Linked DNA regions of Homo sapiens: region 1 is linked to region 2. Evidence: promoter capture Hi-C in human tissues and cell types (Jung and others, 2019). All regions are on one chromosome and are shown on one strand. Each heading gives the region's core, a stretch centred on a gene start or on the middle of the fragment in contact. The rest is flanking DNA. Distances are from core to core; before and after follow the strand shown. Region 1 overlaps DDB1 (damage specific DNA binding protein 1). Region 2 holds the start of ZP1 (zona pellucida glycoprotein 1).

Region 1 (4,981 bases), core at 589-3,088, 460 kb after region 2:
TGGGCAGATCACCTGAGGTCAGGAATTCAAGACCAGCCTAGCCAACACGGCAAAACCCCGTCCCTGCTAAAAATACAAAAATTAGCTGGCATGGGGGCGCGTGCCTACAGTCCCAGCTACTCGGGAGGCTGAGGCAGGAGAATCACTTGAACCCAGGAGGCGAAGGTTGAGCTCCAGCCTGGGCGACCGAGCAAGACTCCATCTCAGAAAAAAAAAAAAAAGAGATACAGTGTGTGTGCCTGTGTGTGTTCCTTAGCCTCGAGAAACTTACAAAACAGCTAAGTGAAACACGCACTGATAAGCTACACCTATGAGATTTTTTTTAAATTGATACAATTCTTAAAAGCATTCTGATGGAATAATGGTAGAGAGAACACAATTGATTGCTCCGCTAAAGTTGTCAAAACTTTCAGTCCTGCCATTGTCAACATCATCTTCCCCTCCTTTTTCTGAATTATGACTCATGTCAGTCCTGGGACTGCCAAGGTCACCTTTAAGATGCTAAAAAGCAGGGACCAGAAGAAAGCTACACTCAGCCAGTGGAAGACAGCTTCAACAAAGAAGTTATGGAAGGAATTCAGCAATGTGTTTCAGGGCAGGGATCACATCTTAGTCACTGTTACAGCTCCTGAAGCATGAATACCTTTCACATAGCACTAAGTACCTAAATATTTGTCAAATTGAATTTCTGGCATAAAACAGAAGATAGTAATTTTTGGCTGATGAAAACATTTTCCCATCAATGAGTAGGGTTATGACACAACTTTGCAAAAAGTTCAAGTGTGGATTTGGGCCTCTGAGACACACATGCAGAAATGAAGATCTGATCACAGCTGGCAGCCCTGAAGCTTAGAACAACCAGCCTTGAATAATCAACAACATCAAAGTTTTAATGACCTAATATTACAAAACTAAAGAACATAGAGAAATTCTAAGTTTTTATTTTAACTCATACTAAGTAAGATCAAACAAAATCTCCTGGTTTCAACCTTATTCAATTGGGTCTTATTCCAATAGCTTCAGAACTACAGTAACACTAAGAAATATACAAAAATATATCAGCACCTCCAACATATAACAAGGCTATCAAACTGTTTATGTGCCAACACACTCTATGTGGAACTGGACTATCATTTCCTTCCATCACTTATTCAGCCACATGCAAATGAAATGATCTTATGCTGCATGGCCCTTTGTTAAAGGGCTGAGATTTTACCAAGATACTGGCATGTTAGTCTGGTGCTCTACCACCCCACCCCCGCTTAACAGATCTGGACCAGAGAACAGCTGCCCAGGATCAGCTCTGCTACAGTTTTAGGCAGACTAAAATAGAAGTTAAGAGCCAGCAAGTTGCCGAGCACGGTGGCTCACGTCTGAAATCTCAGCACTTTGGGAGGCCGAGGCAGGCGGATCATGAGGTCATGAGTTTGAGACGATTCTGGCCAACATGGTGAAACCACGTCTCTACTAAAAATACAAAAATTAGCTGGGCGTGGTGGCATGCACCTGTAATTCCAGCTACTCAGGAGGCTGAGGCAGGAGAATCGCTTGAACCAGGAGGCGGAGGTTGCAGTGAGCCAAGATCAGGCCATCGCACTCCGGCCTGGGCAACAGAGTGAGACTCTGTCTCAAAAAAAATAATAAAATAAAATTAAAATAAGCCAGCAAGTCACCAGTAAGTGATTACTGGACAAAATGTAAACCTCTTCTTAAAAAACACATATAAGGCATCACCAAGACAATTTCTCTTTGCTTAATATAAAGGCAAGATCTAGATAATTTCTTGACAACTAAGTTTTAATAATCCCCTAGCACTCCAGTAAGAGAATCAAAGTATAAACTGGGTCATCCTATGAAATCTCCCAAGGCCCACAACCAGAGTGTAATCTCAGGATTAAAACCTGCTACAAGCCCCAGAGAGCTTGCTGCCTCCACAATAAGTACTACTGCACTCAAGAAGCAACGAAAGTCTGACCCATATTAATTGTGTTGTTCAAAACATTTCAGGACAAACACATTAAACACTTCTCTCTATCCTACCAAACCCAGACATGCCAGTTAGCAAAAACAACTCCTATCACATCAACCTCACAGTTTCTCGCTCTCTCTTCCTGATCCAGTACCTGGTAGACAAAGCAAATAGTAGGTGCTTGGCAACCATATAGGAACTTGACATCAATGACATGCAGCTCCTCCAGGCGGATGTTGAAGGCCTTGAGTTCTTTATTATCGCGATCTAGTGGAATAACCTTGAAAAGGCCATCATAGAGACGCAGGCCAATCATCCGGCACTCAGGGTCAATGATGCCAATAATGCCGGTCTCTGAGGGGCGGCCAATGCGGTCCTGAGAAACAAAATCGGGATTAGGGAAGAACCTCAACATCCACAGAGCAACAGAGGACGCTGGGCACCACTTGTGCAGAAAAATTTTAGGAGAGGTATTAAAACTAATGGATCTATTTGATAGGCCAAATAGTTGGAGCCCCAATGTCAGTGCATGCCTTTTTCATGAAACACTGAATCTCAATGAATTATTACCCTGTCCCTTGGGTCTTGAGTGAACTACAGGAGTCCTTTCTCCAAAAAGCTCAAACCCATAGTGTCTTCTCCTTATTTCTCTGATCGAATAGAGAGCTGCCCCCAGCACTTTAATTTTTTCCATGAATCATGACAGCCCTACTTAGAAAACTTTCATTGGCCTAAAGCAGCCACCTCACCTGGACATTGCCATGGGCTCGCGTAATGATGTCAATGCTCTCGCCACTCTGTTTATACTCCAGGATGCAGGCATTGTACTTCGCTGTCAAGATAAACAGCAGGTCCTTGCTCTCCCCCTGGAAACCAATATTATGCTATCAAAAGAGGTTCTTTTTAAAACAGGAACAACCTGTCCAGTCTTTAAGCACACCAAATTCTTTAAGAATTTTCCAAATTCTTCTCTCCCTAAAGAGAAAATACATGGTGAGCTTGTAACCCACACTAGGTACACATACACCCTAAGGGCATGTACAAAAAGCCAGAACTGAAGCTGGTAAACATCTAGTTCTCACTTTCATGATTCTCCATCTCTCTGTTCTACAAACAAAGTCTTCATCTATTTCAATCTCAAGCTAATCTCAATCATCCCATTCAAATTCTGAAAGATGAATGTAATGCCTCCTCCACTCCTCCCCAAGTATTTGAAGAAAGAGGAAAAAAAATGTGGGAATAACAACGGAAGCTAAAATGGATCAACAAAGTCCTACTTATTTAACACAGACTCCAAAAAATTGCTGTTTTGTTCAAAGGGTTATAATTAAAATTTTGAACCCACTGCTTTCTTGCCAGATTCAGTTAAGACAACATAAAGCAATGTGGTGGTGATTTGGATGAAAACATTTGCGCTAAAATAATGAAAATACTGATGGTAATTGTTTTTTTTGTTTGGTGTTTTTTTTTTTGGAGATGGAGTCTCGCTCTGTCACCGGGCAATGGGCGCCATCTCCACTCACTGCAACCTCCGCCTCCTGAGTTCAAGCAATTCTTGTGCCTCAGCCTGCCAAGTAGCTGGGATTACAGGCACGTGCCACCACACCCGGCTAACTTTTGTATTTTTAGTAGAGATGGGGTTTCACCATGTTGGCCAGGCTGGTCTCGAACTCCTGACCTCACGTGATCCACCCACCTCGGCCTCCCAAAGTGCTGGGGTTACAGGCGTGAGCCACCATGCCCGGCCTGGTAATTGTTAACATAACTGTAAATGCTTGCTATATGATAGGCCCTATGTTACTGAATCATTTCATCGTCACAACAACCCAGGGGATTTGATCTGAAAGGTGCCTTAAGTGGCACCTAAAGTCAGAATTAACAAGAAATGAAGCCAGGACTGCCCCACTCTGTAGCCTATCCTCTGAAACAAACTGCTTTAATTTCTCCCTTCTAAAGAAGTCAACTTCATAAATGTTTCCCTAATGAATCTCTCCTTTTACTTCTAGAAAGCTTGGTCAAGAGTACATACTGAAATTTGCTATCCAAAGAGAGAAAAAAGAGAAGAGTTTTTCTCCTAAAGCATATTCCACCCATCCCAAGAATTCGCAAAACAACCTAACACAGCCCAAGCACGGTGGCATGCCTACAATACCCCAGCTACTCTACTCCAGAGGCTAAAGTGGAGGGATTGCTTGAGCTCAGGAGTTCAAGACATCCTGGGCAACACTGTGAGACCCCCGTCTCAAAGAAAATAAATAAACAAACAAAAATAACATAAAACAACCTACGACCAACAGTTCCCCCTCCACTGCTTGTCCCAACTGCAACACTTACCTTGGGCCTGAAAAGCTCCATGACCGCAATCTTCCCATACATGCCCACCTCTTTGACGGGCCGAAGCCCCTCGGCGGTGACCACATAGATCTCTAATCTCGTGTTTTTGGCAATCAACAGGTTTAAGTCTTCGGCCGAAGTAAAGTGTCCTGAAAGAACAGACCCTCTAACTTTTGAACTCAGGGGAAGGGCCTCCCATCCCTTCAAAATAATCCTATCACTTATGTCTAAATACCTCCAGAATTCTCATTTACTTCACATACTTCTCCAACTCCCTCCAGCTACTCCCCTTCTTGCCAAATCCGGCACCTCAAAGAGTCTCAGTTCATGCATTCAACAAAGCTACTTCCCTAATCAGACTAAGAAAACTGGACTGGACCTAAGAGCCGTGTGTCCTCCAAATGACAATGACTGCGTAATCCCTTCTCATGCCTCTTGCCCCTCCAATTTTACTCTATTACAGTTACAGTGGCAGGCTCTAATTGAGAATGCCGGAGAAAGTGTTCACTTCTTCCAGTCTTCATCTAAAGTCTCACAAAACTTTTATCTGACAGACCAAGTCAAATGAAGAAGTCCCAGAGCTTTATATGAAAACACTGTTTTGTCCACACCCCCTGCCCTCCTGGCAGTCTACCAATACCTCCATCCACACTCAGCTACCTCCAACTCTGAACAACA
Region 2 (5,652 bases), core at 1,451-3,950:
GGCTATATGGAAATTCTGCAAATCTGAAATAATTTCAAAATTAAAAGTTTAAAACTTCCACATCGTCCCTCAGGGAAAATCCACCCCACTCCCCGCTCCTGCCTGGCTCCTCTCCTTCCCCTCCTAGTCCTTCCCTCGCCAGCACCCTCAGCCTGCCTGGAGTCCTTGTCCTGGACCTTTGTGTGACCTGCTTCCTCCCTCCTCCTCCAGCTCTGCTCTCCCCAGATCCCCATTGCACCATCCCTGTCCTCCCCGCCTCCTCCCACCTCTGCTCAGGACCCCTTTCCTCCAAAAACACTTCCATGTCGCCCATCCTCGATGCTGTGTTGGGTGCCTCTTCCCACTGTGCCCCCAGAGGGACTCCCACCCCGCCCCACCAAGCTTTCCCAGCTGAGCTTTAATCACAGTAGAAGTGAATTATTGCCAAGCATTAAATCATTACTGCACCTGGTACCCATGACTTGTCTCTTTGTGTCTTCCTATCCACCATGTGGGCAAGGAAAGCATTATCACCCCCAGTTTACAAACAGGAAACCTGAGGCTCAGAATAGATAATGCATCTGAGTCACAGCTAAGAAAGTGGTTGGGGCACCATTAGAACCAACTTTTTTTGTTTAAACTTTTATTTTAGGTTCAGGGTTACTTATGCAGGTTTGTTATATAGGTAAATGCATGTCCAGAGGGATTGTTGTACAGATTATTTCATCACCCAGATACTAAGCCTAGCACCCAATAGTTATTATTTCCACCCTTCTCCTTCCTCTTACCCTCTACCCTTCAATAGGCCCCAGTGTGTGCCATTCCCCTCTATGTGTCCATATGTTGTCATCATTTAGCCTTCAGTTATAAGTGAGAACATGTGGTATTGGTTTCTGTTCCTGCATTTGTTTGCTAAGGATAATATCCTCCAGCTCCATCCATGTTCTTGCAAGAGATGTGATCTCATTCTTTTTTATGGCTGCATAGTATTCCATGGTGTATGTGTACCACATTTTCCTTTTTTTTTTTTCTTTTTCTTTTTTTTTTTTTTTTTTTGAGACAGAGTCTCACTCTGTCGGCCAGGCTGGAGTGCAACAGCACAATCTCGGCTCACTGCAACCTCCGTCTCCTGGGTTCAAGCGATTCTCCTGCCTCAGCCTCCTGAGTAGCTGGGACTACAGGTGCGTGCCACCACACCCAGCTAATTTTTGTATTTTTAGTAGAGACAGGGTTTCACCATGTTAGCCAGGATGGTCTCGATCTCCTGACCTCGTGATCCGCCCGCCTCGGCCTCCCAAAGTGCTGGGATTACAGGCGTGAGCCACCGTGCTCAGCATGTACCAGATTTTCTTTATTGAGTCTACCATTGATGGGCATTTGATTCCATGTCTTGGCTATTGTGAATCATGCTGCACTGAACATATGCACGCAGGTTCAGTGTCTTTATGATAGAACAATTTATATTCCTTTGGATATATACCCAGTAATGCGATTTCTGCATCAAATGATAGTTCTGTTTTCAGCTCTTTGAGGAATCACCACACTCCCACAGTGGTCAAACCAATTTACACCCCCACCAAGAGCGTATAAGCATTCCTTTTTCTCTGCAACCTCACCAGAACCGGGCTCTTAGCTATCAAGCCTCTTGCTCTCCCCTTCCAGCAGCTGCTAATTATAATAGCTGCATTTTCTAATGTTTGCTGAGCTCAAACGCTGCTGGGCCCTAGGCTAATCACTTGCAGGAATTAGTGCCAGGACGTGGGGCTGGTGACAGTCCCTTCCTCAGAGGATGGTCAGGCGGTATAAGGATCTAACACAAGCAAGACCTGGCACTGTAATCATGGCAGACCACAGGCCATTCTTGTTGTTTCCAGCCACTTTTATGTCTTAGAACTGTTCTAGATTTACAGAACTGAGAAGATAGTACAGACAGTTCCCATACACCGCAGGCCCAGTTTACCCCATAACTGATCTTACTTGAGTATGATACATTTATTACAATTAATGAACAAACAAATGTGGACACATTATTATTAACTAAAATCCACTTTCTTCACTTTTACTGCCTTTTTCTGTTCCACGATCCCATCCAGATGCCACATTACATTTAGTTGTCCTTGTTATTTTTTATTAGTCATAGTCATCATCATACTGACCGGCTGAATCCTCAGGAGAGCCCTTGGAGGTGCTACTGGTCTGTTTACTCACCTGCAGTCCCCATTCCGCTGCCAGCTCTGAGGGCTGTGTCTTCCTGGTCTTGCTCTAATGCCCCTAAAGCCCTGCCTGAGGAGCTGTGACTGTACTAACCAGGCCGGCAGCTCCCAGTGGTCCTGAGGCCTCAAGGCAGGAAGGAGGACCTGGAGAGCCTGTTGGGGCAGGAAGGGAATGCAGAAAGGCTGGGGTGAGAGGGAGACAGTGGAGGGCCTGAGGTCTGCAGTGCCACCTCCTAGCCCTGGATCCCTTCCCACAGCCCATCTGCAACCTCAGTTTTCTGGAAAGCTCCCTCCTCCCTTCCAAAGCCACAGCTGTGAGACAGAAAGCCAGGGTGAGGGGCCACGTGCAGCTTTCTGCCTCCCGCTGCCTTTGGAACAGGAGTTTCACCACAGCCCCTGGTGGCCAGGTGGGTGCTCCTCCAGGTGGGCCCCCTTTGCCCTTACAGGCACCCACTTGCCACCTCCTCCATAAAAGGCCTGGGCCCAGCTCTGGTGGCGAGGGAGTAGGGGGTGTGTCTGTGGCGTCTCATGGCAGGAGGCTCAGCCACGACCTGGGGTTACCCTGTGGCCCTGCTACTGCTGGTTGCCACCCTGGGGCTGGGTAGGTGGCTCCAGCCCGACCCTGGCCTCCCAGGCCTCCGGCACAGCTACGACTGTGGGATCAAGGGAATGCAGCTGCTGGTGTTCCCCAGGCCAGGCCAGACTCTCCGCTTCAAGGTGGTGGGTGAGTGCTGGCAGAGTCCTGGCCCCTGCCTCCCTGGCCACGGGCTGCTGCCAGAAGGGAGCTGGGACCCTTCCCCTGAAGGAGCAAGAACAGAGGCCTCCCTCCAGCCTGGGGGTGTCCAGCCCCCCACCCCCTCACCACAGAAAAGGGCAAGGAGGAGAATCATCACCCAGGGCAGCTTCTCCCACGTTAGTGTGCATGGGAAACACCTGGCCACCTTGTTGAGGTGCAGGTTCTGATTCAGTGGACCTGGGGCAGGGCCAAGCCTCTGCATTTCTTTTCTTTTTTTTTTTTTTTTCTGAGACAGTCTCACTTCTTTCAATCTGTTCTCCAGGCTTGAGTGCAGTTGGCACGATCTCAGCTCACTGCAACCTCCACCACCCAGGTTCAAGCAATTCTCCTGCCTCAGCCTCTTAGTAGCTGGGACTACAGGTGTGTGCCACCACGCCCAGCTACTTTTTGTATTTTTAGTAGAGATGGAGTTTCACGATATTGGTCAGGCTGGTCTCGAACTCCTGACCTCAGGTGATCCACCTGCCTCAGCCTCCCAAAGTGCTGGGGTTATAGGCGTGAGCCACTGCACCCAGCCTAGGCTCTGCATCTCTAACCACGCTCAGTCAAAACTGAGGCTGAGGGTCCATAAACCACTTCCAGCAGCAGGACCTAGTAGGCGTGGCCTGGTGTGGGTTTAGAACTGGGGTTTGGATCTGCAGCTTCTAAACGGGATGATTTTGGACAACTGACCTGACTCATAAGCCTCTGTTTCCTCATCTGCAAGGTGGGGAAGATGAACCTGGCCGTGCTCATGGAACAAGGGCATGGGGACATGCCCACACCCAGGGAATGCCCAGGCTGTTCTGGGGCAACAAGCAGGGTGGACACCTAGGGGGTGTCTCCAAGCAACTGCAGCAGCCACAGTTAACCTGGGAAATGGGTTCAGATCTTTCTACAAAGCCCAGGATTCAAATCCTCATTCTGCCCCTCATTGTGTGCACCTAAGAAAGCTCACGCACCCTCCCTTCCTCAGCTGCCTCAGCCACAGGATGTGGATAACTAAGCTTAAAAGAAGTGATGTGAAATACTCAGGCCAGTGCCTGAGACCCTGTGTATCCCTTCTCCACCTCATCTTCGTGCCTGCCTGCTGCCGTGTGCTGTGAGCAGGGAACCCTAGCTAGAAAGATCCTAAGACCCTCCCATCCCCTTACAGCTGTGGAAACTGAGAGCAGAGAGGGGAGGGGGCTTGCCCAAGACCACACAACAAACTAATAGCAAAGCTAAGGCAAGAACCCAGGTCTCCTGGCTGCTGAGTGGGAACTCCTTCCGAGACCCCAGCAACCTCTCCCTGCACCCTTCAACATCCCTGGCCCCTCCCCTTCCCCCACTGCAGATGAATTTGGGAACCGATTTGATGTCAACAACTGCTCCATCTGCTACCACTGGGTCACCTCCAGGCCGCAGGAGCCTGCAGTCTTCTCGGCCGATTACAGAGGCTGCCACGTGCTGGAGAAGGTAGGGGTTGTTCATGCTCTGGCACAGGGGCAAGCTTGTCCTAGTGTCATGTCAGGCTGAAGAGGCCCCTCATGAACCAGAAAGGAGCCAAAGCCGAAGATCTGTTGAGCTGGTGGGTGAGGGAAACTAAGCTCTGGAAGGTACTTTCTGGAATCCACCATGAATCCAGCTCCCTGCCTAATGGCCAGCTCAGCTCTCGTGGGCCCGTCCCCTGCCTGGGTATGCTAGGTGGCCTCACCTTGCTGCTCTATGATGGCCTCTCACCTGCAGGATGGGCGTTTCCACCTGAGGGTGTTCATGGAGGCTGTGCTGCCCAATGGTCGTGTGGATGTGGCACAAGACGCTACTCTGATCTGTCCCAAACCTGACCCCTCCCGGACTCTGGACTCCCAGCTGGCACCACCCGCCATGTTCTCTGTCTCAACCCCACAAACCCTTTCCTTCCTCCCCACCTCTGGCCATACCTCCCAAGGCTCTGGCCATGCCTTTCCCAGCCCACTGGACCCAGGGCACAGCTCTGTCCACCCAACCCCTGCTTTACCATCCCCTGGACCTGGACCTACCCTCGCCACCCTGGCTCAACCCCACTGGGGCACCTTGGAACACTGGGATGTGAACAAACGAGATTACATAGGTACGCAGGACATCTGAGTGTACTTACCCTCTGTCTGGGGACTTCTGGAGTACAGGGTGGCCTAACAGCCTTTTACTGGGCTCTAAGCCATTTCTTTTTTTGTTTTTTTCTTTTTTTAGAAAAAGATGATTCTTTTATTCCTTTGTAGTATTTGGAAAACAGCTTTAAACATGTATAGGTGTACTAAAGCTAGAAGAGGTCTTGTAAATTTGTTTCCTAACTTTAGGCAGAAACTCATTGAAACCATTGCCAGCAACACCTGATTCTCAGAAAATATTCTCTAGAAATTTCAGTAATATTCAGTTTTGAGGGAGGACATTTACTGTGCTGGCTAAGAGCACAAGCTCTGGAGCAGGTTCCCAAGATTCAATTCCAGGGCCATGATTTGCAAACTGTGTGCCTTCAGCCTCATCACTCTGTCCCAACCCTAGGTACCCACCTGAGCCAGGAGCAGTGCCAGGTGGCCTCAGGGCACCTCCCCTGCATCGTGAGAAGAACTTCAAAAGAAGCCTGTCAGCAGGCTGGCTGCTGCTATGACAACACCAGAGAGGTTCCCTGTTACTATGGCAACACAGGTACAACCTCCCACCCCA

The links. Contacts are between HindIII fragments. The study calls those that stand out against the background at their distance.
Region 1: a contact is called between a fragment that was not itself captured here and the fragment with the promoter of ZP1 in region 2, in 1 of the 25 tissues and cell types used here (hippocampus).

Annotation. Positions count from the first base shown.
Region 1 is chr11:61,327,240-61,332,220 of GRCh38, forward strand. It overlaps DDB1 (damage specific DNA binding protein 1), which reads right to left. Exons shown (of 27, transcript NM_001923.5): 2 at 4,304-4,452; 3 at 2,719-2,835; 4 at 2,124-2,345. Among named protein-coding and RNA genes, the nearest start is that of DDB1, 3.4 kb to the right of the region's middle. The HindIII fragment of the contact is 5,328 bases long and covers 1-4,502 here.
Region 2 is chr11:60,864,842-60,870,493 of GRCh38, forward strand. It overlaps ZP1 (zona pellucida glycoprotein 1), which reads left to right and starts at 2,701. Exons shown (of 12, transcript NM_207341.4): 1 at 2,701-2,916; 2 at 4,304-4,425; 3 at 4,696-5,059; 4 at 5,491-5,634. The coding sequence starts at 2,721. The HindIII fragment of the contact is 7,386 bases long and covers 1-4,216 here.